Linked DNA regions of Homo sapiens: regions 1, 2, 4, 5, 6 and 7 are each linked to region 3. Evidence: promoter capture Hi-C in 16 types of primary human blood cells and fetal thymus (Javierre and others, 2016). All regions are on one chromosome and are shown on one strand. Each heading gives the region's core, a stretch centred on a gene start or on the middle of the fragment in contact. The rest is flanking DNA. Distances are from core to core; before and after follow the strand shown.

Region 1 (3,603 bases), core at 477-2,976, 2.5 Mb after region 3:
CAACTAGTAGTGTTGCTTTAGTTTTTAATCTTTTTATCTGAAACGGAGAGTCTATTATAATTTGTCATTTTATTCATTGCAGCGGTTGTGGAACAGGAAATGAAAAAGGACTGGCTTTTTGCCCCTCATTATCGATACTATGTAAGAGAAATGAGAATTCATGCATACAGTCAGCTGCTGGAATCATATAGGTCATTAACCCTTGGCTATATGGCAGAAGCGTTTGGTGTTGGTGTGGAATTCATTGATCAGTAAGTTTGAATAATGCCATGTTAATTGAAGTTTTAAAGTTGCCTTTTAAAATATGTGAACTTGTACAATTTTTTACTTGTTTACATTGGTTCCCTCAATCTTAACGGGGAGGGGAGAGGTTTTTTTCCTCAGTATTATCAAAACATTCGTATCCTGTTGCCTCTGCCTTCCTCATGTCATGTCTGCCCCTTGCATTAACAGATGGGAAGATGAGTTGTAGTGAGGCTAAGTGATTTGTTAAAGGTCATTAGACCAGTTGTTATCAAAAGTTGTCTTCTGTTACTTCTTTGTAGACCACACTGCAGCTACGGTAATGACTCTTAGATCTGATATTTACAGTTGGTCATATTCCCTCTGATAATTCCTTCCAGTTTTTAGGTTGCTGCTGCAATTCTGGTCAGATTGGTTGTTAAATGTGGGACTTTTAGTACTTGCATCAGTGATTAAACAAATAAATACTTAATGAGCCATTCATTACTATATGTTTGGTATTGTTTTACAGCTCCCTTTTCACACTTTCATTGTAGTAGTAGGGAAGAGATGGCAAGGAAGCAAATAAATATAAAACGTAATTTCACATATAGAAATGAACCTATGGAGATGAGAAAATGCTATCCTTACGTACGGCATGCTTAAGGAGGTGAGGTTTGCTCTGAGATTTGAATTGAGAGGAGTCAGCCATATGGAGTCCTTCTGCGTGCAGAAAAGGGAATAGAAAAGGCTAAGGCTTTGAGCCAGGAATAAGCTTGGATGTTGTAGGAACAGAAAATGTCAGGGTGGCTCCAGCATAGTTGGAGTGGTAGGAGATTTTGAGGATAATATATGGAGAGTTAGGTAGGTAATGATTTGTGTAGGGCCTTGTAGGTCATGGGATGGAGCTTGAGTTTTAAGTAAGTTTGATAGGGAGCCATTGGAAGATTTAGAGCCCAAGTTACATGGTCCTATGCAGTGTCTTTATATAAGAAATAGAGTAAGGTGGCAGAGAGGACCAGTTGTGCTGTTTAGTAGCTCTTAGAGGAGATGTTACCGTGGCGTGGACGAGGGTGGTGAGAGTAGAGTTGGGTAGGAGACATACTCAATATGGGATGTCCAGATGGCATCTAGATCAGTGGCTCCCACATGTAGGTGTTTTTAAATGTTGATGATGGTGTTTTCAATGGTCTGCAGTGGAAACTTTAAATGAAGATGCATTTCTTTTAAATAAGACCATTCTCTTTCTAGTATTTTTTAAATTTCGAACATCCATAAAATTGTAAAGAAAGAATTGTACAGTACATTTTAACATATTTGCTTGTTACAATCTATACATTTTATGTTTTTTAACCACTTCAAAGTAAGTTTCAGACACCAACACATTTTTTAAATGATCCCTACCATTTTTTAAATGATCCCTACCAAAATGGAAGGCTGGTATCCCAAGGTTTTGTTCCATTTCTCAATTCTAGTCTGTGAAATTGAAGTCTGATGACCACTCTTAAGAGGGCTGTTCATTAGGGTGCGGGCTGGGCATTATGAGTGTGTTTTTCATGAGTCAGTGGAAGGAGGGGCTTGTTGTGAGCAGTGCATGAGAAAAACGGCTTGGCTTTGCTTCTTTTTCCAGCTCTGTGGCCTTGGTCAGGTTACGTCTCTTCAGTATCGTAACTGTAATGTGGAGATAAAGCCTTCATTAGTTAGGGGCACACACCGCAGTATTCCTTAAGTCATCTTGATGACAAGTGAATGCAAGGCAGCTGGTACCTTTCAGGTAGTAGTTGAATTCAGGTAGTATTTGTTCAGTTTTTTTTTTTTCCCTTCATGTTCTAAGACCAGCTTGAGAGGCAAAGGTTGTACCACTGAGCTCTAGTTGTTGTTACCTAAAAAGGCCTTGTTTTAAATTTCTGTGATACCTAAGAATTTCAAATCTGGGTTGTCATGGATTCTTTATTCTTTTTTTCTCCCTTAAAAAGTTACATTTTAGATGAAATCCCCTTTTTTAAAATGGGCAAAGCAATAATTCTACATCATTTCTCCCCTTCCCTTCCACTTGTTTAGACTAAGATATGTTAGAGAGGGAAAGGGTCGTTGTTTTAGTAAATACTATTGCTGTTGACATGTTAATACTATTGCTGTTGACATGTTTACTGATGGGCTGTGTTCCATAATTTTGTTTTAGGTCTTTTGTTTGAAACAGTTTACTGTTTTTATCAGTTTTGGTCCCTAATTTTTCCTAACCTACAGTTTTTCTCTGAGTACATATGGTTTCATTGTTTGATCTACTTTCTATCTATCTGAATATGAACTTCTAGGATCATGTTTATTCTAGTAGATGATGACTTAAAGCCTGCAGTATAGGAGGGACAACGTCAACTACTGCATGTGCAATAACAAGCTTGAAGGGAAGCTAAATGTTTGTTACAAATTTAAGACAGTATTTTAATGCCGTTTGCATTTTTCTAAGAATTTTCTATAAAGCTAATTCTGTTATTTTTTGTCTCTAAATTAGGGAACTGTCCAGGTTTATTGCTGCCGGGAGACTACACTGCAAAATAGATAAAGTGAATGAAATAGTAGAAACCAACAGGTACTCTCATTTCTCAGAATAAGGGGCATTCCTAAATTTTAAAAGTAGGTCAACTATTGTCATGGAATAATGTGACTGGTAAATAATTCATTTTTTCTTGAATTTATTTATAGACCTGATAGCAAGAACTGGCAGTACCAAGAAACTATCAAGAAAGGAGATCTGCTACTAAACAGAGTTCAAAAACTTTCCAGAGTAATTAATATGTAAAGCCATGTAACTAACAAAGGATTTGCTTTAGAGATAATTATTTGGAATTTTTATAGCTTACTTCACAATGTGCCCAGGTCAGCTGTATAAAATAAATACTGCATTGTTGTTTCTTTCCATTTATTTTTTTCTTAAACACATAGGCCTTCTAGAATCGGGTCCACTTATGTTAAAATAATGTCACTTGAATTATTCATTAATGAAAATCTGGTTTATAGGGTAAGGTTGCAGCTGGGTTCAGCTAGGTTCAGCTCCTGACTGCCTCATCAGTAAAATACGTCAGTAAAATACGGATGTTGACACAGCCCATTATCGCTTACCTTTAAATCTCTTACCTGTAAGCTTCCCGATTTTAGAAAGAAGAGTAGTGGCCTAAAATTAAACAAACAGTGTCTCCCACTTTTAGTATACAAAAGATAGAAGATAAAGAAAATGTGTAATAAGCTTTCCCTCAGAAACAAGTAACCATATAAGGCAGGAAGTTACTCTTTTTTAGGAAGCTGACATAACCTGGATTACAGAATCTACCAAGGCTGATCTCAGTTTTCTAAAACCTTATATGTAAGTATTTATTAGCAAAC
Region 2 (3,430 bases), core at 857-3,356, 2.5 Mb before region 3:
GCGGAGCCTTCCCCCGCTCTCCTTCCCGCCGCCGCAGCGCTCTGCGCTGTTCTTGCCCGGGTGGTAGCCGCTCCCGGCGCGGCTTCCCGGAGGGCTATAGCCTACGCACGCACTCCGCCCGCGCCTTCCCATTCCCTGCGGGCCGGGAGGCGGGCGTCGGAAGCCGATCCTGGCCCTCCCCGGCCCCGGGCGCCCGGCCCCTTCCCAGCGCCCGGAGCGCAGGCGGGCCCCGGGCCCTAGCCGCGTTGACCAGGTTTCCAGCCGGGGCGGAGCCGCTCCCCGGGGCCCCTCCCAGGCGCGCTGGGGACCCGGGGCGCCGCGGTGCACGGTGGCGGGCGGCCCCGGGAGATCACCGACCCCGAAGCAATCCCTGGCGGCGCCCGGGGTCCGGAACCCCAGCGCGGCGTCTCAGCCGCGGCGGGGTGCTCGCCACTGACCCCTCAGCCCTTGGCCGGGACTGACGTTCAAGCGGACAGCTGGGCTCTGCCGGGACTGACGTTCAAGGGGCAGCCGAGCACTTCCTGAGCCCTGCCTGGCACCCGCCGAGAGACTTTTTGGCACAAGTAGGGGCCAGCCGTTGAGGTGTCATTCGGGGTCTCACGTGTTGAACTTTCCATTTGCCCACTGCCGTCTTTAAACTTTTCCAAGCTCTCTCTCTCTGCGACATTGCCCCATTTCGCCCGCTGTGTCAACCCCAGGTTTTGCCTCCTATCCATCATCTTTCAGATGTTTCCCTTTTTTCCTTCCTCATTAGGCCTGTGGAAATCGAATCAAGGGTTTCTGGAGTGGAGTGATTCCAGCTGCTTTGAGCTGAAGGAAAAGTAGCCTGGCCAGTAAAGCGTCCGTGTGCTGGAGGAGTGCAGCCACCCATCCCGGCGGGCCTTGCAGGACGACCGACACCAGGAAGGCTTTGTGCCAGGCCCAGCAGCCACCCCCAGCCGCCTTATGCAAGTGGGTACATGCCCTCGCCAGACGCCAGCTTTCTGATCTGCGTCTTTAGATTTTTTCCATCGCCTAAGCGTTACTTCTCCACTGATCGGTGAGTTTAGTGATGGCCAGAGCTCACTGGAGGACAATGGACTTGGATAACCAAAGGTCAGGGCTTGGTCATAACAATGACTTTATTACCGGGAAGGACGAGTCAAAAAATAGGAAGGCCTGGGAACCCTCAGGCTCGCCACTCTAGGTGGGTAGCCCTGTGATTCAGCCAGTGGGATTACTGCTGTGAGAATGGGAAAGTTGTTTGCTTCTGGGAATGTTTGATCCACTAAGTATCCTGTTGGCCAGTTCCAGTGGATGCCTGTAGAAAGTGGGCCACCTCCTCCCGTTCCCCATTGGAATCTGGTCCGAGTTGCTGTGTTGGGGGTGGTGCCTGTGAACTCGAGTATAGCAGTGTGGTATTCATTAAGGAAAAGAAAGCGCACCACCGGCCAGGCCTTCTGGCTGAGAGTTATCACGTTACATTATTTTCTTTCTTAATATTTCCTTTAATTCACAACATCATCTGAATGATCAGGTTTACTTTAGCATCCTTTTAAGGTAATATGTTTCATTTCTGACAGGTTTTAGAGACCTGAAACATCACAGAAGCTTCTGAGTGGTTCTGAAGATTCAAGAGGTATATATTTTTATTACAAGTAGAGTCATTGTTACTATTAATATGTGTTTTTAAATTTTTATAAAACTGCTGTCAACTCATTCTTGGATAAAAGCTCCAAGTGAAAATGTTATTGTAATTCAGATCAGATTTACAGCAGATAACACCATACTCTTGAGGGCCGCCAAAGTGAAAAACCACAATACTTAACTACTCCAAGGGGGGAAAATGGGGGAAAAAGGATTCCTTTTTGGTGTCCCCACTGTTCACTTAGAATTCCATGGCCTTGGAACTTGAGGTTTGATGGAACATAGCAGTCAATTTCCTTTTCTTCTTTCTTTCTTTGTTTTTTTTTTTTTTTGAGACAGAGTCTCCCTCGCATTACCCAGGCTGGAGTGCAGTGGCGAGATCACGACTCACTGCATCCTTGACTTCCCAGGCTAAAGTGATCCTCCCACTTCAGCTGGGACTACAGCTGATTTTTTGTATTCTTAGCAGAGACCGGGTTTCATCACGTTGCCCAAGCTGGTCTCGAACTCAGGGACTCAAGCAATCTGCCAGTCTTGGCCTCCCAAAGTGCTACTATTACAGGCCTGCAGTCTGTTTCTAAAGGTTCCATCTTCACAGCCCATAATCAATGAAGACTGATTTCGAAAGTTGGGTTTTCCGGTATGACCCAGGAAACAGCAGTCCTAGCTGATGAACATCCAGTGTGTATTAAGACTCTGTCATCCAGTGGAAAGAGCACTTAAAAAAAAAAAAAGAACAAAGATCCCACTAAAGTGACCTGAGAATGGCAGGATCATTGTCTGGGATATATAGGAGAAATCTGGTCCAAGAGATTTAACACTTACTGGGTGAATTAGAAATGCAGTGAGGTTTCTGACCATTATCACTGTTCACAATGTAAAGGCATGATGGGAGAGCTTAAGGGCACAGTCTTTGAGGCAGACTGCTTAGTGTCCTGGAGTTTCTAAGTCTTAGCTATTATAGCTGATTATTATACCTACTAGCATGTAAGCTTCACAAGGGCAATGAGTTTAGTTCGTGACTGCACCTTCATTGCTGTATCCTGAGTACAGAAGCGCTCCTGGAACATTGTCTGTGCTCATACCTTGATTATGATTATAATTTTTTATTCAGCAGACACACACTTGCTCAGAGCCATCCCACTCCCTTTGCTCTCTCACAGATACTTTTCCCCTCCTCATCATTCAGATCTCAGCTTTAATGTTATTTAGGCCCCTTCTCTGCCCCACATGGCTTTAAACTTTTATTTAATAAACATTTCCATAGCATTTAGCATGTGCCAGATAGTTTTCGAAACACTTTACCAATAACTAACTCATTTAACTCATGACAGCTCTATGATGAAGGTTTATTATTATTTCCATTTTACAGATGGGAAAGCTTAGGTGCAGAAAGGTTAAGTAACTTGTTCCAGGTCTTACAGCTGGGAAGCTGCAGATTTGCGATTCAAATCCAGGTGGTTAAGCTTTAAATGTTCACCATGCTATGTTGTCTATCATATTACTTTATTTAGTTTCAGGTATCACTAAACTGGATCCTATCAAGCCCTTCCATAATTTTTGTAAGTTAAAAAGTTTTATTGGAACACAGCCTCATCCATTCTTTTATAATAGACCATGGCTACTTTTTTGGACAGAGGCATTGTTGTGTAGTTGCCACAGAGATCTTATGTCTGGCAAAGCCAAAAATATTTACTGCTTCTCCTTTACAGGAAAAGTTTGCTGGCCCCTAGTTGGTTTGATTCACAGGCCCAGTCATCAGCTGAAGTTGTTTATTTGATTGCTTGTTTATGACAGTTGTAGT
Region 3 (3,471 bases), core at 184-2,683:
ATTTGCATACTCTTGGGAAGGGATATGAGACACTAGCAAACCAAAACGCCCAGAGGGCAGCTATATGTTACAGTGGTAATCTTTTTCTTTTTTTCTCAATGTGTGTATGTCTGCTTAATGTTACCACGTACTATCGTAACACACTACTACTATGGTCTGATCTTTAAGAGCAAAAGTTAGAAGCTTTGTTAACTATTATTTCTCCTTTAACTCTGTCTCTTACGAATACACAATGGCTTCTTGAAAATTATCTTAAAAAGACTCTGATTAAAACAAAAACCCAATGACAACAACAAAGCAACCCCTTTATCAAAGGCTGCAGCATTTCTAGAAGTACCCTTCAACTCACTAGCTGGGAAGGAGAGTGCACTTTTTTTTTTTTTTGAGACGGAGTTTCGCTCTGTCACCCAGGCTGGAATTCAGTGACAATTCAGTGACAAGTCTCTGCTCATTGCAGCCTCCGCCTCCGGGGTTCAAGCAGCTCTCCTGTCCCAGCCTCCCGTAGCTGGTATTACAGGTGTGCACCACCACACCTGGCTAATTTTTTTATTTTTCATTTTTAGTACAGACGGGGTTTTACCATGTTGGCCAGGCTGGTCTCGAATTCCTGACCTCAGGTGATCCGCCCGCCTTGGCCTGCCAAACTGCTGGGATTACAGGCGTGAGCCACCACTCCTGGCCGAGGGTGCACCTTTGAGACTAGGTTTCTGCAGCACACATTCATTTTAGTAATCAAGGACATATTGCTGGATTTAGGACGTGAAGAACAAGTCAGGAGCAGATGCTCCAGGCTGCTCGAGGAGGAAGGGGACCACGCCTAATGAAATAACCAAGGATGTCCCAGTCAGGAAGAAATGTGTTAAGTTTTAAACCTGTGTCTTCGCTTTTGGAAGGAACCTGGAAAACGGACGCGGGTTTGCTTCTAATCTGCAGTCCTGCTTGCAGCCTGAGGAGGACGTAAAAAGCCTTGGGGCCAGACAGCCCCAAAACGGGGGCGTTTTACCCTCTTAACTTTCTCTCCCCTTCTTGACGCAGAGGGCGTATCTTCACGCCTCCTTTCCCCAGCCCGCGTTCCCGTTCTCCAACAACAACCTGCGTGTCTCCTTTAAGAGGCGGGGGCCGTCCCTCCCTTTCTCCTCCCAGTCTCCCGCCCTTCACACCTTGGGTGGGAAAAGAGTGTGGGGGCGGGGTAGCCGGTGAAGCGGGAGGGGCGGGATCACAGCGAGCGCTCCAATGGCCCTCGAGGCTGGCCACGGTGGACTCCGGCAGCCAATGAGCAGCAGGCGGGGAGGCGTGGCGGGGCGCTGTTGCAAAGCATCCAACGTGGGCCAGCAGGCGGCCGCGGAGCGCGGAGCCTAGGGGGTGTGTGCGGGCGAGCGGCCGGGGGCGGGGCTTGGGGGACCGGCCGGGGCTGGGCCGCGGGGAGGCGAACAGCAAGCGGCTGATTGTTCGGCTGCGAGGTCGGCGGGACTCTTGCTGCGCGGAGGAGCCGTGCGGAACCCGAGGCTGCGCGCGCGCGCGCGCTCTCTGGCCGCGGCGTGGGGACAGCGAGGCGCACTGGGGCCTCCCAGCGCGGGGCCGGCCGCGCCGTCCAGCCCGAGGTCTACGGCTTTGCGCTCCGAGCCCAGAGGAAGATGCCTGCCGGCACCGAGCTCGGGCTGCGGGGCTGAACGCCTGTCTTCCAGGCGCAGCGGCAGCACTGCCCTCGGCCGGTGTCGGTAGCGGCACTCGGCGTGCCCCGGGCGGACGAAGAGCGCAGGCTGGGTACACCTTGCCCGAATCGGCGGAGTTCGCAGCTAGCGCGGGCGGGCCGGCCGGCCCGGATGGGCGCGGGGTTTGCGGCCCCCGCCGGGTGCTCCGGAGCGGCCCGGGCACCGGGGGCACGCTGAGTGCCGGAGCCGCGGCCGCAGAGAGAACTTGGGGCGGGGGCCATGCCCCGGTGCGGAGTCTAGAGCCGAGCGGAGCGCCCCGCGGGCCCGCCCGCGTCTGCGGCCGTTCGGGTCCTCACAGTCCCCGCGCCCGGAGTTCGCAGCGCGCTCCAGACAAGATGGCGCGGCCGGTCCGGGGAGGGCTCGGGGCCCCGCGCCGCTCGCCTTGCCTTCTCCTTCTCTGGCTGCTTTTGCTTCGGCTGGAGCCGGTGACCGCCGCGGCCGGCCCGCGGGCGCCCTGCGCGGCCGCCTGCACTTGCGCTGGGGACTCGCTGGACTGCGGTGGGCGCGGGCTGGCTGCGTTGCCCGGGGACCTGCCCTCCTGGACGCGGAGCCTGTGAGTGCCGCCCTTTCCGCCCTCTCTGCGCCCCGGGGCTCTGTCACTTGGGGATGGAGCGGCGGGGGTTCGTACTCAGGGAGGGGGTGCGGACTGGGTTGTGTGTGTGGAGTTGTGCGTGCTTGTGCGTGTTGGAAGACTGTCAGGTTGGAGTGGCGGAAGGGAGATTCTGCGTGGAGGTCCGGGGGAGTAGGCGTGCGAGAGAGCCTGGAGAAGAAGAGCGTGCCTCGTGGGGTCTGGAGACGAGCGAGCGTGGGTCGTAGAGATTTGGGGGTTAGCCAGCACGCGTCGTGCGGGCCATCTGGGGGTGAGTGAGTGGGAGTCTGGAGCTGAGTGTGTTTGCGGGTGGGTGGGTGGGAAACGTCTGGAGAAGAGTGTGAAGAAGTCTGTGGGGGTATGTGGGTGCGTTTCCTTTTCCTCTCCTGTAATCCAACTATTTGGTGTCTGAGCTCCTTGGTCTTCCAGTGGGTAATGAATGAAGGTGACTGTTGGGTCCAGTCTTTCGTTTACATTATTTATTAGTTGATAGTGTGTGTAGCCGTCTCCTGATCCCCGAAGACCGTGGTGGCCTGACTTGCCTCTCTGTGCGGGGCAGAAGGCAGTCTTCCCCCGAGGACCCCTGAGTTAGAGGGCTTTGACAGTTCCTGGCGACCTGTGAGTGCTGGGAGTTTGTCCTTTTACGCCTGTTTGGCATTTTACGGAACTGTGTTCCAGACCCTTCCTGTGTGTTCCCTGGGGCCCCATTGGGCTTGATGATCCAGTGGGGTGGGGCCCACCCTCAAGACTCTCTCCTCCATAAATGGTGCAAATGAGTTTTGGAGAAGTGCTGCTTCAGGAGAGGGTGCCAGGGGCTTGGCTGATTTAAGCTGTTTGTTTCACCCGAAAGAGGTTCTTTTCTGTGCTGTCAGGATGTGGGCTTATTAGGACTTAGTGGGACACTTCTTACAGGAGATTTGACAGGAAAAAAAAGGCATTAGACTTCTGTGTAAACATGGTAGAATAGAATAGTCTTCTTTTACTTCTAACAAATCTGGTGCATGAGTCAAATCCCGTTCAGTTATGGGTAATTAGCATCTCTGTAGAACCATTAGTACCTTTCCAGAAAAGGCCTAGCTTAAATAGTCCGCATTTCGGTTGAATAATTGGACATTTTTCCTAGAACATAGGAAAGGCACAGCAGTAACCTTAGGCATGACTATGGCTGTT
Region 4 (3,366 bases), core at 53-2,552, 2.6 Mb before region 3:
TCTTTTATAGTATCTTGGCATGGAATTAGGGATTAATTATTAAGTCTAGTTAATATTTAGGATTGTTAATTAGAAGTGGCCGTATTTTAAAAATTACACTAAGAAGAAAGATAAAATATGAAATTCTGCTCTATTTGAGGAAAGATATGAACCGAGTACATTGTTTTGATACTATTCTGCTTTCATAATTTATTTGTATTTTTTATTTGGGGAGTAGGTATCAAGTAGAATTACAAAGTTGTATATTGATGTCAAGCTGTAATCTATGTGGTTTTCACCTGTATTTATTTCAGGGAAATAAAGATACCAGGGATAAGAATGATCTTTCCAAGGATGGGGCTTTTTGGTTTACATATCCACTTTAAAGAACACTTGAAATTTTGAATAATAAATGTAAACAATTTTATGAGTATTCACTTGGGATTCACTTAACTCTGAACTTGCTTTTGTTTTGGTTTGCTTTATACTTAAATATTAGGTAAAAATAACAAGGTGTTCATATTTGAGAAAATCTGTTCAGTATTTTTCTTCTCATAGTCTAACAAAGCTTAAATTTTATACCTTGTAAATGTAGGGCAAACCTGTCTTTACAGGCAGTGCAGCCTAAGTGAAGTGACTCAGTTAATCTGTATTATAGTTTGAGAGGCATTTTTAATGGTATACAATATTTTGAGTTGAAACAAATTGTATGAAATTGTTAAGAACTAGATCATAACTGGAAGTTGCATTTTAAAATAATTCGTTTAAAATTCACTGAAAAGGACAAACTGTGGTTTTAGGTTAATTTTCCCATGTGCACCATTGCATCTATGCCCAGGCTACCAGAACACTGTATTGAGTATGTAAGGATGTTGCAGTGGCCTAAGGAGCAGCCTTTTGGAGGTAATAAACCTAATTTAATAATCTAGAATTACATAAAATACATATTTTTTCTATATTATTCCTTTGGATAATTTCATTAAAAACATTGTTTTGTGATTACGTATTCCTGTCTTCTCTCTCTCTCTCTCTCCCTTTTTTTTTTTAAACAGAAGGGGTTCCATTAGATGGAGATGATCCTGAACATATACAATGGATTTTCCAAAAATCCCTAGAGAGAGCATCACAATATAATATTAGGGGTGTTACGTATAGGCTCACTCAAGGTAAGTCAGCAAATTGTCATGAATTATGATGTTGGGATGACTTAGGGCTGGGATGCTTTCAGGAGAATAATCGATAAGTGAGTTTAGACAGTACCATCCACTTGAAGTTCAGTAAAGGTACCATGTAATTCATACTACTTATTAGCTAGGGGGAATTTAATAAAATTATTGAATCTTACTTACTTAGGCTATAAGTCATCCAAGTCAAACTGTCCATTTTATCTTCCACTGAATTCATCATCTCTTAGAGACAGTCTATTTCACATTTGGACAGGACTGTTAGACAAATATTCTATATATTGAACAGAAATTGTCTTCAGGTCAGCTGCGGTGGCTTATACCTGCAATCCTAGCACTTCGGGAGGCCGAGGCAGGCGGATCACCTGAGGTCAGGAGTTCGAGAGCAGTCTGACCAACATGGCAACACCCTGTCTCTACTAAAAATACAAAATTAGCTGGGTGTGGTGGCACATGCCTGTAATCCCAGCTACTCAGGAAGCTGAGGCAGGAGAATCACTTGAACCCAGGAGGCTGAGGTTGCAGTGAGCCTGAGATTGCGCCACTGCTTTCCAGCCTGGGCAACAAGAGCAAAACTTCGTCTCAAAATAGAAATCGTCTTCAGTTTGGTCTGACTGTTGTCCCAGTACTGTATACAGTCTAATTCCCTTTTAAGTAATAGCTTTTAACATATTGAGGACAGTGATCACATCCTTTGCAAATTTTTATCAGTGCCATAAACCTCCCTAGTTAGTTCCTTTAACCCTGTATTAGTTCATTTTGCTTTGCTATAAAGGAATATCTGAAACTGGGTAATTTATTCAGGAAAGAGGTTTATTTGGCTCATGGTTCTGCAGGCTGTGTGAGCATGGCAAAAGCATCTGCTTGGCTTCTGGTGAGACCTCAGGAAGCTTTTACTCGTGAAAGCTAAGGGGGATGGCAAGGCATGTCATATGACGAGAGGGAGCAAGAGAGAGAGGAGGGAATACCAGGCTTCTTTTAATAACCAGCTCTTGCGTGAACTTAATATCACAGGGAGGGCACCAAGCCATGCATGTGGGATCTGCCCTAACGGTCCAAACACCTCCCACTAGGCCTCACCTCCAACACTGGGGATCACATTTCAGTATGAGATTTGGAGGGGACAGATATCCAAACTATATCCAACCCTTTGATATGTTGTACAGCTTCAGGTTCTCATGTTGTTTTTCTGTAACCATATTCCAGCTATCCATATTGGTTAACTGGAATATAGTTAGAGAAAACAACTTTTCCTAATTGTTCAGGCCAACATGCAGCATTATGGGACTGGTCTTAACTTTAGATAATAGACTTCTGATAACTGATGCAGTCTTAAAGGAGAGCAGGTATTTATGTTGTTGTTTTTTTGTTTACATTGATGCTATACTTTGGATTCTTTGATGTTACTAGCCACTGAAAGCTGGATGTTTTGTCCACATATGCAATTGCTAAGCCACATCTGCCTATTATAAACTTGGCAGTTTGGGGAGTGTCTTTTTTTTTTTGTTTTTCTTAATATCCAAGTATAGGTCCTTACAAATGTATTCTTAAAATTCAACCTGTTTTTCTCTCTTTATATGTATTCTGCCAACTTACCTGGTGTTTCTAGCTTCATTTCACCTGTTTTGATAATTATATCCTTTATTTCTTTTTCAAATAATTGATGAAAATTTTTAATAAGACTGAACTCTCTGAGAACAGACATCTGAATCATACTTCTGGCCAGGCCCTTTTAGGTTTATCTCATTCTGTTCATCAGACCTTCTTGGTACTTTGTATTTCTTTATCTTGTTCACAAGGATGTCATGAAAAACCTTTCCAGATCCTCTACTGAAGCCTAGGTATGCTATCTTTTGCATTTTCCTGAGTTGCTAAGTTAGTCATAGTAGCCAAATGAGGCTACTCCAACATGATTTGTCTAGTAACCAGTCATGCTCAATCATAGTGATCAATGTTTCCAATCTAGTTATAGTTTCCTTTTTTAGAATTTTGCCCAAGATCATTACCAGGTTCACCAGAATGAGCTTTGTCTTCTTTTTGAAAATCTGCCATTTCTCTCCTGTGATTATTTCCTTACATTTACTGATCTAGTAATGTCATTTTAAAATTCCATTTATACTTACTCCTTGTTGCCCTCTGCATTCTCCCTACACGGACCTGCTTTGTGTTCCTTGAACACACCAAGTTCTTCTGTACCTTAGAG
Region 5 (3,883 bases), core at 973-3,472, 2.5 Mb before region 3:
TTCCTCAAATGGGCTTAGTATAACTTAGTCACATTAGCTCACTGTAAGTGAGCCAGCTCCTACAACCCTCCCCTTCTCTGTGGCTGCTGGAGTAGGATGCACGGCCACCATGAAGACCCCAGGTTACTCAGTCAGCTGAGCATGAGACATGAGGGCAGTCTGACCTCAGCTCTGGCACAGTTAAGCAGGATGGGTGTAGCCCAGCAGGGTGGCCGCCTGGTGTTACCTCCTTCCTTTGCCACTCCATGTGCATCCATTTTAAACCCGGACGCTTGGTCAAAGAAGCCATTTACTAAGCCAGGTTCTCAGGACAGGCAATTCTGCCAGATTGCTCCAGAATTCAGGTCCACAGGGTAGGTTGGATGGGGATGGCGCTAAGTAAGGGTTTGTGTGGCTGCTGTTTCCCTTTTGTTGGTAAGGACTTAAATTAAGCATCACTGTGACCTGCAGGCTGACTATGACATGAATCCCTCCCGGTGGATGGTGTTGCCAGAGTCCTGATGGTCTTGGATGAGCAGTTTGCCCAGGGAAGAGCAGGGAGGTAACTGTGACTGCAGTTCACATCTTGGTGATATTTTCCAACCTGTCATCACAAGGAAGCCTATGGGGCCTTTCCCTCTCCTCCTTGAAAAGCTCTGCAGTTTACTCCCTTCAGCATGTGGCATCTTCAGTGGGATGGGCAAGGCCACCAACCTGCAAACATGCATAGAGGGACCCATCTTCAGATGCCTCTCTGGGCACAGCAGGGTTGCTCTTATCAAACAGAATGAATAAAAGGAGAAATTACGGCAGGCTTTCCACATTTGCTTGTGCTGAGAAGTAGTATAGCTTTATGATTACTTTTTTTCTGTTTGTTTTTGAGACAGAGTCTTGCTTGTCACCCAGGCTCAAGTGCAGTGTCGCGATCTTGCCTCACTGCAACTTCCGCTTCCCAGGTTCAAGCGATTCTCCTGCCTCGGCCTCCCCAGTATCTGGGATGACAGTGTGTGCTATCACACCTGGCTAATTTTTATATTTTTAGTAGAGACAGGGTTTCACCATGTTGACCAGGCTGGTTTCGAACTCCTGACCATAGGTGATCCGCCTGCCTTGGCCTCCCAAAGTGCTGGGATTACAGATGTGAGCCACCGTGTCCAGCCATGATTACTTTTTTAATTATGAAAGTAATACCTGATTATAATGAGTTCAAACAACACAGAAGTATGTGAAGTTTTTAAAAAAGTCTCCTTCTTCCTCTCCAATTCCCTGTTCCCCCAAGGGTAACTGCATTTAACGTGTGTGAGTCCCTTGCAGGACTCTCTTTATTTTAATAAGTGCAAATATGTCACCCAGGCTAAAGTCCAGGAATATGATCCTAGCTCACTGCAGCCTTGCTCTCCTGGGCTCAGGTGATCTTCCTGCCTCAGCCTCCCAAGTAGCTAGGACTACATGTGCATGCCACCATACCTGGCTATTCTTTTCCATATATGTGTTATATATGTGTTATGACAATATAGTCATAACATATGTGTGTGTGCGTATATATAATATATATTACTGTCTTCTGATTTGACATCTGGCTAATTTTTAAATTTATTTTCTGTAGAGACAAGATCTCGTTATGGTACCCAGATTGGTCCTTGATATGGTTTGGCTGTGTCCCCACCAAATTTCAGCTTGAATTGTATCTCCCAGAATTCCCACATGTTGTGGGAGGGACCCAGGGGGAGGTAATTGAATCCTGGGGGCCAGTCTTTCCTGTGTTATTCTTGTGATAGTGAGTAAGTCTCATGAGATCTGATGGGTTTATCTAGGGTTTCCACTTTTGCTTCTTCCTCATTTTCCCTTGCTGCCACCATGTAAGAAGTGCCTTTACCTCCCACTATGATTCTGAGGCCTCCCCAGCCATGTGGAACTGTAAGTCCAGTTAAACCTCTTTTTCTTCCCAGTCTCGGGTGTATCTTTATCAGCAGACTGAAAACGGACTCATACAGTAAATTGGTACCAGTAGAGTGGGGTGTTGCTGAAAAGATACCTGAAAGTGTGGAGGTGACTTTGGAACTGGGTAGCAAGCAGCGATTGGAACAGTTTGAAGGGCTCAGAAGACGACAGGAAAATGTGGGAAAGTTTGCAACTTCCTAGAGACTTGTTGAATAGCTTTGCCCAAAATGCTGATAGTGATATGGACAATAAAATTCAGGCTGAGGTGGTCTCAGATGGAGATGAGGAACCTGTTGGGAACTGGAGCAAAGGTGACTCTTGTTATGTTTTAGCAAAGAGAGTGGCAGCATTTTGCCGTGCCCTAGAGATTTGTGGAACTTTGAACTTGAGAGAGATGATTTAGGGTATTTGGCAGAAGAAATTTCTAAGCAGGAAAGTATTCAAAAGGTGATTTGGGTGCTGTGAAAGACACTCAGTTTTAAAAGGGAAACAGAGCATCAAAGTTCAGAAAATTTGCAGCCTGATTGTGCAATAGAAAATAAAAACCAACTTTCTGGGGAGAATTTCAAGTCAGCTGCAGAACTTTGCATAAATAGCAAGGAGCCTAATGTTACTTCCCAAGACCATGAGGAAAATGTCTTCAAGGCATGTCAGAAACCTTCATGGCGGCCGCTTCCCATCACAGGCCTGGAGACCCAGGAGGAAGAAGTGGTTTTGTGGGCTGAGCCCAGGGTCCCCATGCTGTATGCAGCCTAGGGACTTGGTGCCTTGTGTCCTAGCCGCTCCAGCCATGGCTGAAAGGAGCCAATGTACAGCTCAGGCTGTGGCTTCAGAGGGTGGAAGCCCCAAGCCTTGGCAGCTTCTATGTGGTGTTGAGCCTGCGGTGCACAGAAGTCAAGAATTGAGGTTTGGGAACCTCCACCTAGATTTCAGAAGATGTATGGAAATGCCTAGATGCCCTGGCAGAAGTTTGCTGCAGGGGCGGGGCTCTCATGAAGAACCTCTGCTAAGGCAGTGTGGAAGGGAAATGTGGGGTTGGAGCCCCCAAACAGAGTCCTTAGTGGGGTGCTGCCTAGTGGAGCTGTGAGAAGAGGGCCATCATCCTCCAGACCCCAGAATGGTAGATCCACTGACAGCTTGAACTGTGCACCTGGAAGAGCCGCAGACACTCAATGCCAGCCCGTGAAAGCAGCCAGAAGGGAGGCTGTACCCTGCAAAACCACAGGGGCAGAGCTGCCCAAGACTGTGGGAACCCACTTCATGCTTCAGTGTAACCTGGATGTGAGACCTGGAGTCAAAGGAGATCATTCTGGAGCTTTAAAGTTTGACTGCCATGCAGGATTTCGGACTTGCATGGGCCCTGTAACCCCTTTGTTTTGGCCAATTTCTCCCATTTGGAACGGCTGTAATTACCCAATACGTGTATCCCCATCGTATCTAGGAAGGAACTAGCTTGCTTTTGTTTTTACAGACTCATAGGTGGAAGGGACTTGCCTTGTCTCAGATGAGACTTTGGACTGTGGACTTTTGGGTTAGTGCTGAAATGAGTTAAGACTTTTGGGGGACTGTTGGGAAGGCATGGTTTGTTTTGAAATGTGGGGACACGAGATTTAGAGAGCCCTGGGCAGAATGATATGGTTTGGCTGTGTCCCCACCAAATTTCAACTTGAATTGCATCTCCCAGAATTCCCACATCTTATGGGAGGGACCCAAGGGGAGGTAATTGAATCATGAGGGCCAGTCTTTCCTATGCTATTCTCGTGATAGTGAATAAGTCTCATGAGATCTGATGGGTTTATCAGGGTTTTCCACTTTTGCTTCTTCCTCATTTTCTCTTGCCGCTGCCATGTAAGAAGTGTCTTTCACCTCCCGCCATGGTTCTGAGGCCTCCCCAGCCATGTGGAACTGTAAGTCCAGTTAAACTTCTTTTTCTTCCCAGTCTCAGGGTATGTCTTTATCAGCA
Region 6 (3,477 bases), core at 352-2,851, 2.6 Mb before region 3:
TGAACCCGGGAGTTGGAGGTTGCAGTGAGCCAAGATGGTGTCACTGCACTCCAGCCTGGAAGATAGACTGAGACTCCATCTCAAAAAAAAAAAAAAAAAAAAAAAAAGTGTTAACATGGATTACTCACTTGTATAATAGCCTTGTGAATTAGATACTGTTATTATCATTTTACAGCTGAGAAAACTGATGCCCAACACCACATAACTACTACATGCTAGTGCCAGTCTTTGAACCCAGGCCAACTTAGGCACCCGCCCTCTTATTTCCATGATGTTACTTTGCCATGTGCTCAAAGCTCTTGGAACAGTCCCTGGCATTAGTAAATGTCTAATAAATGGTGGCTGTGGTTATGATTGTTGTTTTATCTTGATTTTGGAGGTGCTTTGGCCAGAATTTCAAACCTATTCTGTATCTTTTAAGGCATGTAAATTTTGTAAATTTTGCTGCAAAGCTCTTAAATTTCCAGGATTAATTTCCCCCGTTTCCTCAAATGCTTAAATCGCAGGTGCAACTGCCAAAAGAACTGGCGTAAGAGGCAACAGAGCCATCTAGAAGAACAAGAAATGGAAATAGTGACTCTTGGATTACAGCATGGAGACTATGTCAGCAGCAATACTTTAGGATCCACGTGGCAGAACTGGAAACAATGCTACCATCTGATAAGGGTATTTGTAAAAGGCAGAATGTTTGGGCCATGAAGAAGTAGGGGCTGAAGAGGAAGGTGGAAGGAGATAAAATATAATATTTAGAGGCAATATTTTCTACTTGCAATCAATTTGAGTGACTCAGGTGAAATTTAGAGTCATATTTCCCGAAGCAGAAGTTAAAGAAAATTTTTTAAACATTTGCTTTATTATTGTTTTCTTCTGGTAAATAATAAATATAACAGAAGTGTTAACTATTGTATTCCCATTTTTTTCTCCTTCCATCTCTTCTGCGGTAATTCATCACATAGTATCTTAAAGGGAACAAATAATGTTTCATCCTATGGAAATGTGAAGGATGAATTGAGCTCCTGGCCCTTCTGATGCTTTGAAATGGAAGGATTGTTCCTTAGAGCTTCTCTGCAGAATCAGTGGAGATTTTCAGTTTCCCACCCTGCCTGGCTTTCTCTCTTGGTGACTCCCTTGGTGTTTTGGAGTATTCTTTCTATAGGGGTACCTGTGAGGGGCAGAACACGTAAGCCACAGAACATGGTGAAAACTAAGTGTCACTAGGAAAAGTAATGGGAAAGTAAACCCTGCATATATGAAAACTTCCTGGCAGCAAGTTTTCATATATAGAGGGACAATGGGAGACAGCATGCTGTTTTTATAGAAAAGAAGTTTTACATAATATAGTTATTGACAAGCTTTTGGTTTTGGCTAAATACACACACACACACACACGCTCATATGTGTTTACTCTGTAAGTCTAATTTGATTTTATCACTCTCAAACATATTTTAAAGGAAACTTGCTTACAGGAAGGATTAAACTTGAACTACTTATCCTATTCTTTAAGGCACTCCATTGCCTGGCCCCAATTTACTAATCCTGTCTTATTTCCCACAAATCCTTTATACTCTACTCGATGAAACATCCTTGTGCACACCCTTGTGCCTTTGCTCGCATTAATCCTTCCAAGAGACTTCCCTCCTGTTCTCCATTAATGAACGTCCTACCCAGTCTTCAACTCCCGGGTCAGATCCTGTGTCCTCCATAAAAAATTTTCCAGACAACTCCAATCTGTCCTTCTTCCAAGTTCCTAGAGGCCTTAATTATTCATTCTAGCCACTAGGTGCATAGAATTTGAGATTTTTGTAATAATAGAAGTAGTGTGAACCCTAGAAATTAGAAAATCAAGCTTTGGGCCAGGTGCGGTGGCTCATGCCTGTAATCCCAGCACTATGGGAGGCCAGGGAGGGAGGATCTCCAGAGGTCAGGAGTTCGAGACCAGCCTGGCCAACATGGTGAAACCCCGTCTCTATTAAAAATACAAAAATTAGCTGGGCATGATGGCAGGCACCTGTAATCCCAGCTACTCGGGAGGCTGAGGCAGGAGAATTGCTTGAACTGGGGAGGCAGAGGTTGCAGTGAGACAAGATCACGTCACTGTACTCCAGCCTGGGTGACAGAGTGATACTCCATCTCAAAAAAAAAAAAAAAAAAAAAAAAAAAAAAAAAAAAAAAAACCTTTGGTGCCTTTTCTCTCTTCTTTACCTGAGTAAATAATTGGCACCTGCCTTCTTTCTCCTTTTATGTTATCATAAGTGGCATGTATCAAACCAAACAGGCTAGGGGAGAATAGGTCTAATTGTGACAGACTTAAAAACAACACATTATTTGGAAAGACAAGCCATGGGAAAGAAATATGGCGTTTCTATTTTTTTAAGATAATTTAGTATGTACAAAAGTATCCAAATTTAAATATAGTTTTCAATGGCTGATAGTTTTGTTTTCTCACCCTTCAATATTTCTAGAAAACATCCTTGCATACAAAGCAGGATAGCTAAGAAAGGGCTGTAACAAACAAAACTTCAAGTGTCTAGCACATACTACATCTAAGAGGCTAAACTCTGATAGGAAAAGCACTTTAAACATAATTAAAAGCTTAATGTAAATTAGTAGTTGAAATTCTAGGCCGGTGCGGTGGCTCATGCCTGTAATCCCAGCACTGTAGGCGGCCGAGGTGGGTGAATCACATGAGGTCAGGAGTTCAAGACCAGCCTGACCAACATGGTGAAACCCCATTTCTACTAAAAAAAAAAAAAAAAAAAAAAAAAAATACAAAATTAGCCAGGCATGGTAGCTCATGCCTGTAATCCCAGCTACTTGGGAGGCAGGAGAATCACCTGAACATGGGAGGTGGAGGTTGCAGTGAGCTGAGATTGCACCATTGCACTCCAGCCTGGGCAACAAGAGCGAAACCTCATCTCAAAAAAAAAAAAAAAATTCTAGAAAGCCCCTATGCATTTGTTTGTATAGCCACAGTATTATTAAAGTCAGGAATTTCAAAATGCACAGTAAGAGGGTTTTTATCTTAGATATACAAGAAGAAAAGATGATCCAATTTCATAGCTTATGGCCTCAATACACAGGTTTTGCCAAAAGAGGTGAAGCAGTTCACATTATGCTTTTTCTACCACCCAACCCTAAAGATCTTAGTTGCAGATTTTAGCTTGTTTTTAAATGTAATCATAATTTACAACATTTATATGTTACATTTTTCTGTTATTACCCTTCCAGAATTGACTACTGGCCATTAGTAATTACAGGTATCTTTTTTTTTATTAGTTTCTCCAAATTTATTGGATTTTATCGGCAGAATTCACCTTGTAGAAAATGGAATGGGCTAACATGTATATAAAACTGGGCTAACATGTATATAAAACTCGTGCCAGGTTTAAAAATAGGATCCCACTGGAATTGTTTTATTCTGGCTGCAAGTTAATAAAGTATTCAAGCTTTACTAAACAGTATTTGAAACAGCTGAAG
Region 7 (3,467 bases), core at 189-2,688, 2.5 Mb before region 3:
TGTGCTAGCATATAGGCAAAGCCACAGGACAAACATACCAAGGAATGCTATTAAAAAGACCATAGCTATGCTGTGGAGCAGAGTGTAAAATGTGAAATAGAGGTATTACTAGCTCTACTTTGGTGGAGAAAAAATACAAGAATTCTTACCTAGGTTAAATCTCAGAATCTTACCCATTGCTCTTTTTTTCAATTGAAAATTTTTGTTGATATAATGTAGATTCATGTGCAGTTATAAGAAATAATATAGAAAGGTCCTTTGTACACATTGCCTAATATCTCCAAGTATTAAAATCTTACAAAATTAATGTATAATATCACAACCATGGTATTGACATTGATACAATCTACTGATTTTATTCAGATTTCCAAAGTTTTATTGGTACTCATTTGTGTATGTGTGTGTGTGTGTGTGTATTAAGTTCTAAACAACTATACCACATATCCATTACCATAGTCAAGATATTGAACAGTTCCAACACTATTGAGTCCTTCCTGTTAGCTTTTTTTCTTTTTTTCTTAGCTGAAAATAATCACTCTTAATGTTACCCTTTTGGAAACACACCTACCACTCTCTCAACCCTTCCTCCCTTGTCCCAAATCTCTGGCAATCACTAATCTGTCCTCTGTTTCTAAAATTCTGTCATTTCAAAAATGTTACATAAATAAAATTATACAGTGTATGACATTTTGGGTTTGGCTTTTTTCACTCAGTGTAATTCCCAGGAAGAGGTTCACACAGTTGTTTTTGTATCGGTAGTTTAGTCTTTTTATTGCTGAGTGTTATTCCATAGTATGTACCACGTATATTTAACCATTCACTGCACAAGGGACGTCCAGGCTGATTCCAAGCTCTGGCTATTACAGATAAAGCTACTGTGAATATTCATGTACAGGTTTTAGTGTGAACCTAAGTTTTCATTTCTCTAGATAAATGCCCAAGTGTGCAATTGCCAGGTCATGTTTAGTGTTTTTAAGAAAATGCCAAACTGTTTACAAAGTGGCTGTGTAAGAGTAATGTGGTTTCTTCACACCCTTGCCAACATTTTATGTCGTCCCTGTTTTTTCTTTTAGTTACTCAGACAGCATGTAGTGATATCTCATTATGATTTTAATTTGTATTTTTTCCCTAATGGCTAATGTTATTGAACATCATTTTATGTCCTTATTTTCCATTTGTACATTCTCTATGGTGAAATTTCTGTCTATGTCGTTTACCCATTTTCTAACTAGATTGTTATATATTCCTGATACTAATCCTAGATATATGGTTTGCATTTATTTGCTCTCACTCTGTAGTTTGCCTTTTCATCCTCTTCACATAGATTTAAAAGTTGAAAATTTTGAAGCAGTTTGTCAGTTTTTCTTTCTATGGCTCTTGCTTTTTGTGTCAAATCTGCCTTGTTCTAGATCCTGAAGACTTTCTCCTCTGTTTTTTCCTAAAAGTTTTATAGTTTCATGTTTTACATATAAGTCTATGATCCATTTTGAGTTAATTTTCGTGAATGATGTGATGTGTAGGCTTTTTGGTTTTTTTGCATATAGCTGTCCAGTTGCTCCAGGACCATTTGGTGTTGGTGATCCACTACTCTTTTAATGCATGACTCCATTTTGAAATTAAAATACTTTTGGAAAAGAGTGATAAAGCAGGTATAAGTTAAGATTGGTTCATTTGTCTCAGTAGACAGTCCTGCCTTAGGCAATAAATAGTTATCAGTTTTAAGTGTGGCTACTTGCATCATTAAATGTTTGAAATCAGAATTGACTTGGTATTTTGGTCTCTGGGCTGTATGTGTATGTGATTTTTTTTTCTGTCCTGTAATCAGGTGAATCCCAGACCTTGCTGGCAGCAGCAGTTGAGAGAGAACGTGCAGCTACAGAAGAACTCCTTGCTAACAAAATTCAGATGTCTTCCATGGAGTCACAGAATTCTCTTTTAAGACAGGAAAACAGTAGATTTCAAGCCCAGCTAGAATCAGAGAAAAATAGGCTGTGTAAACTGGAGGATGAGAACAATAGGTGAGCATGGTTTCTGAGTGATATTTTTGGTAGTTCCGTGACATCCTAAAGCACTTTTTAAAAGTATGTTGTTGGGCCGGGCGCCGTGGCTCACGCCTGTAATCCCAGCACATTGGGAGGCCAAGGCGGGCGGATCACTTGAGGTCAGGAGGTGGAGACCAGCCTGGCCAACATGGCGAAACCTACTCTCTCCTAAAAATAAAATTAGCCAGGTGTGATGGTGTGCGCCTGTAATCCCAGCAGCTCGGAGGCTGAGGCATGAGAATCGCTTACACCCGGGAGGCGGAAGTTGCAGTGAGCCAAGATCCCACCACTGCACTCCAGCCTGGGTGACAGAGTGAGACTCGGTCTCAAAAAAAAAAAAATAAATTAAATAAGTAAATAAACAAAGTATGTCGTTGGCTTTTAGCTTCAGGGTACCAAGAACTAAATGTAATCACTTTTAGCATTTAAAGTTAGGGTTATTAGTAATAGGATATTATGGCCGGGTGCTGTGGCTCATGCCTGTTATCCAGCACTTTGGGAGGCTGAGGCAGGTGGATCACCTGAGGTTAGGAGTTCAAGACCAGCCTGGCCAACATGGTGAAACCCTGTGTCTACTAAAAATACAAAAATTAGCCAGGCATGGTGGCAGACGCCTGTAATTCCAGCTACTCGGGAGGCTGAGGCAGGAGAATTGCTTGAACCTGGGAGGCAGAGGTTGCAGTGAGATTGCACCATTGCACCCCAGCCCGGGCAGCAGAGCGAGACTCCGTCTCCAAAAAAAAAAAAATAAATAAAGTAATAGGATATTATAACAAGAAGATAGTACTGGGATTCATTGTCATGTAGATTGTTGAGATTGTGTGGCATGTTTTGTATTTATTTTTTTTTCCAGGGAAAGGATTTGTACCTTTAATCAGATTTTTTAAAGGGGCCTATAACACCACAAAATAGTTTTGAGACTACTCTTTGGAGTTACTTTTATATTACAAGGATTTTAGTAGTATAATTTAAGTCTTTTCTAAATAAATTTCTGGGTTCTTGGAAACCATGGGGTGTAAAATCCATCTATCTGAGATTATATTAAGGCAATGGTTAGTATTTTTTAACCCTCTGTTCTTCCTTGGAAATTTTACTTTTTAAAAAAATGTCAAGTAAAAATGATTTCTAAAGTAAAATATCTGAACTTTTAGAAACATTTTCATAGAACTCCCTAATAAGCTTTGTGGAATCTGAGCATATTATAGGATGATGGTACTCAAAATTATTTTTATAAAGTCTCTTTTTAAATGAAATCTTAACCCAGAGCACCAATAAATAAAATGCACAGAAGTGGAGCTTTTTCACTTTTGGTTTGGTTTCTGAGTGAAACTCAGATGGGATCTGGAACACACTGTTGGAAAATCACTGATGTCAAGCTGGTAATAAAAATGATTTCTCAATATGTAGCTGGAGTTAATAAAGTAC

Evidence for each region. The method cuts DNA at HindIII sites, captures the fragments that hold promoters and counts their contacts. A CHiCAGO score of 5 or more calls a contact.
Region 1: a contact is called between the fragment with the promoter of PSMD6-AS1 here and the fragment with the promoter of LRIG1 in region 3, in 2 of 17 cell types (naive CD8 T cells and total CD4 T cells). The highest score is 5.3, in naive CD8 T cells.
Region 2: a fragment that was not itself captured here is called in contact with the fragment with the promoter of LRIG1 in region 3 in 4 of 17 cell types (activated CD4 T cells, non-activated CD4 T cells, total CD8 T cells and 1 more); the score reaches 13.6 in activated CD4 T cells.
Region 4: a contact is called between a fragment that was not itself captured here and the fragment with the promoter of LRIG1 in region 3, in 1 of 17 cell types (activated CD4 T cells). The highest score is 5.4, in activated CD4 T cells.
Region 5: a fragment that was not itself captured here is called in contact with the fragment with the promoter of LRIG1 in region 3 in 1 of 17 cell types (naive CD8 T cells); the score reaches 6.0 in naive CD8 T cells.
Region 6: a fragment that was not itself captured here is called in contact with the fragment with the promoter of LRIG1 in region 3 in 1 of 17 cell types (activated CD4 T cells); the score reaches 5.4 in activated CD4 T cells.
Region 7: a contact is called between a fragment that was not itself captured here and the fragment with the promoter of LRIG1 in region 3, in 1 of 17 cell types (activated CD4 T cells). The highest score is 5.6, in activated CD4 T cells.

Annotation. Positions count from the first base shown.
Region 1 is chr3:64,010,087-64,013,689 of GRCh38, reverse strand. It overlaps PSMD6-AS1 (PSMD6 antisense RNA 1), which reads right to left and starts at 1,726. Exons shown (of 2, transcript NR_189168.1): 1 at 1,648-1,726. It overlaps PSMD6 (proteasome 26S subunit, non-ATPase 6), which reads left to right. Exons shown (of 8, transcript NM_014814.3): 6 at 83-251; 7 at 2,735-2,812; 8 at 2,926-3,139. The coding sequence ends at 3,022. PSMD6-AS2 (PSMD6 antisense RNA 2) reads right to left here. Exons shown (of 3, transcript NR_038286.1): 3 at 1,447-1,893. The HindIII fragment of the contact is 1,623 bases long and covers 1,000-2,622 here.
Region 2 is chr3:69,010,124-69,013,553 of GRCh38, reverse strand. It overlaps EOGT (EGF domain specific O-linked N-acetylglucosamine transferase), which reads left to right. Exons shown (of 18, transcript NM_001278689.2): 2 at 755-1,039; 3 at 1,563-1,618. It overlaps EOGT-DT (EOGT divergent transcript), which reads right to left and starts at 434. Exons shown (of 1, transcript NR_185971.1): 1 at 1-434. RefSeq lists a silencer at 3-552. The HindIII fragment of the contact is 1,028 bases long and covers 1,593-2,620 here.
Region 3 is chr3:66,498,984-66,502,454 of GRCh38, reverse strand. LRIG1 (leucine rich repeats and immunoglobulin like domains 1) reads left to right here and starts at 1,433. Exons shown (of 19, transcript NM_015541.3): 1 at 1,433-2,265. The coding sequence starts at 2,048. RefSeq lists silencers at 1,064-1,723, 1,744-1,883, 1,924-2,003, 2,024-2,233 and enhancers at 1,336-1,836, 1,837-2,337. The HindIII fragment of the contact is 6,273 bases long and covers 186-3,471 here.
Region 4 is chr3:69,059,593-69,062,958 of GRCh38, reverse strand. UBA3 (ubiquitin like modifier activating enzyme 3) reads left to right here. Exons shown (of 18, transcript NM_003968.4): 10 at 780-882; 11 at 1,032-1,145. Among named protein-coding and RNA genes, the nearest start is that of TMF1, 8.9 kb to the right of the region's middle. The HindIII fragment of the contact is 1,506 bases long and covers 550-2,055 here.
Region 5 is chr3:68,991,766-68,995,648 of GRCh38, reverse strand. The region is part of intron 10 of EOGT (EGF domain specific O-linked N-acetylglucosamine transferase); the gene reads left to right. Among named protein-coding and RNA genes, the nearest start is that of EOGT-DT, 19 kb to the left of the region's middle. The HindIII fragment of the contact is 4,506 bases long and covers 1-3,883 here.
Region 6 is chr3:69,106,151-69,109,627 of GRCh38, reverse strand. It overlaps LMOD3 (leiomodin 3), which reads left to right. Exons shown (of 3, transcript NM_198271.5): 3 at 507-3,477. The coding sequence ends at 533. Among named protein-coding and RNA genes, the nearest start is that of LMOD3, 15 kb to the left of the region's middle. The HindIII fragment of the contact is 494 bases long and covers 1,355-1,848 here.
Region 7 is chr3:69,028,366-69,031,832 of GRCh38, reverse strand. It overlaps TMF1 (TATA element modulatory factor 1), which reads left to right. Exons shown (of 17, transcript NM_007114.3): 11 at 1,826-2,018. Among named protein-coding and RNA genes, the nearest start is that of EOGT, 16 kb to the right of the region's middle. The HindIII fragment of the contact is 3,571 bases long and covers 1-3,223 here.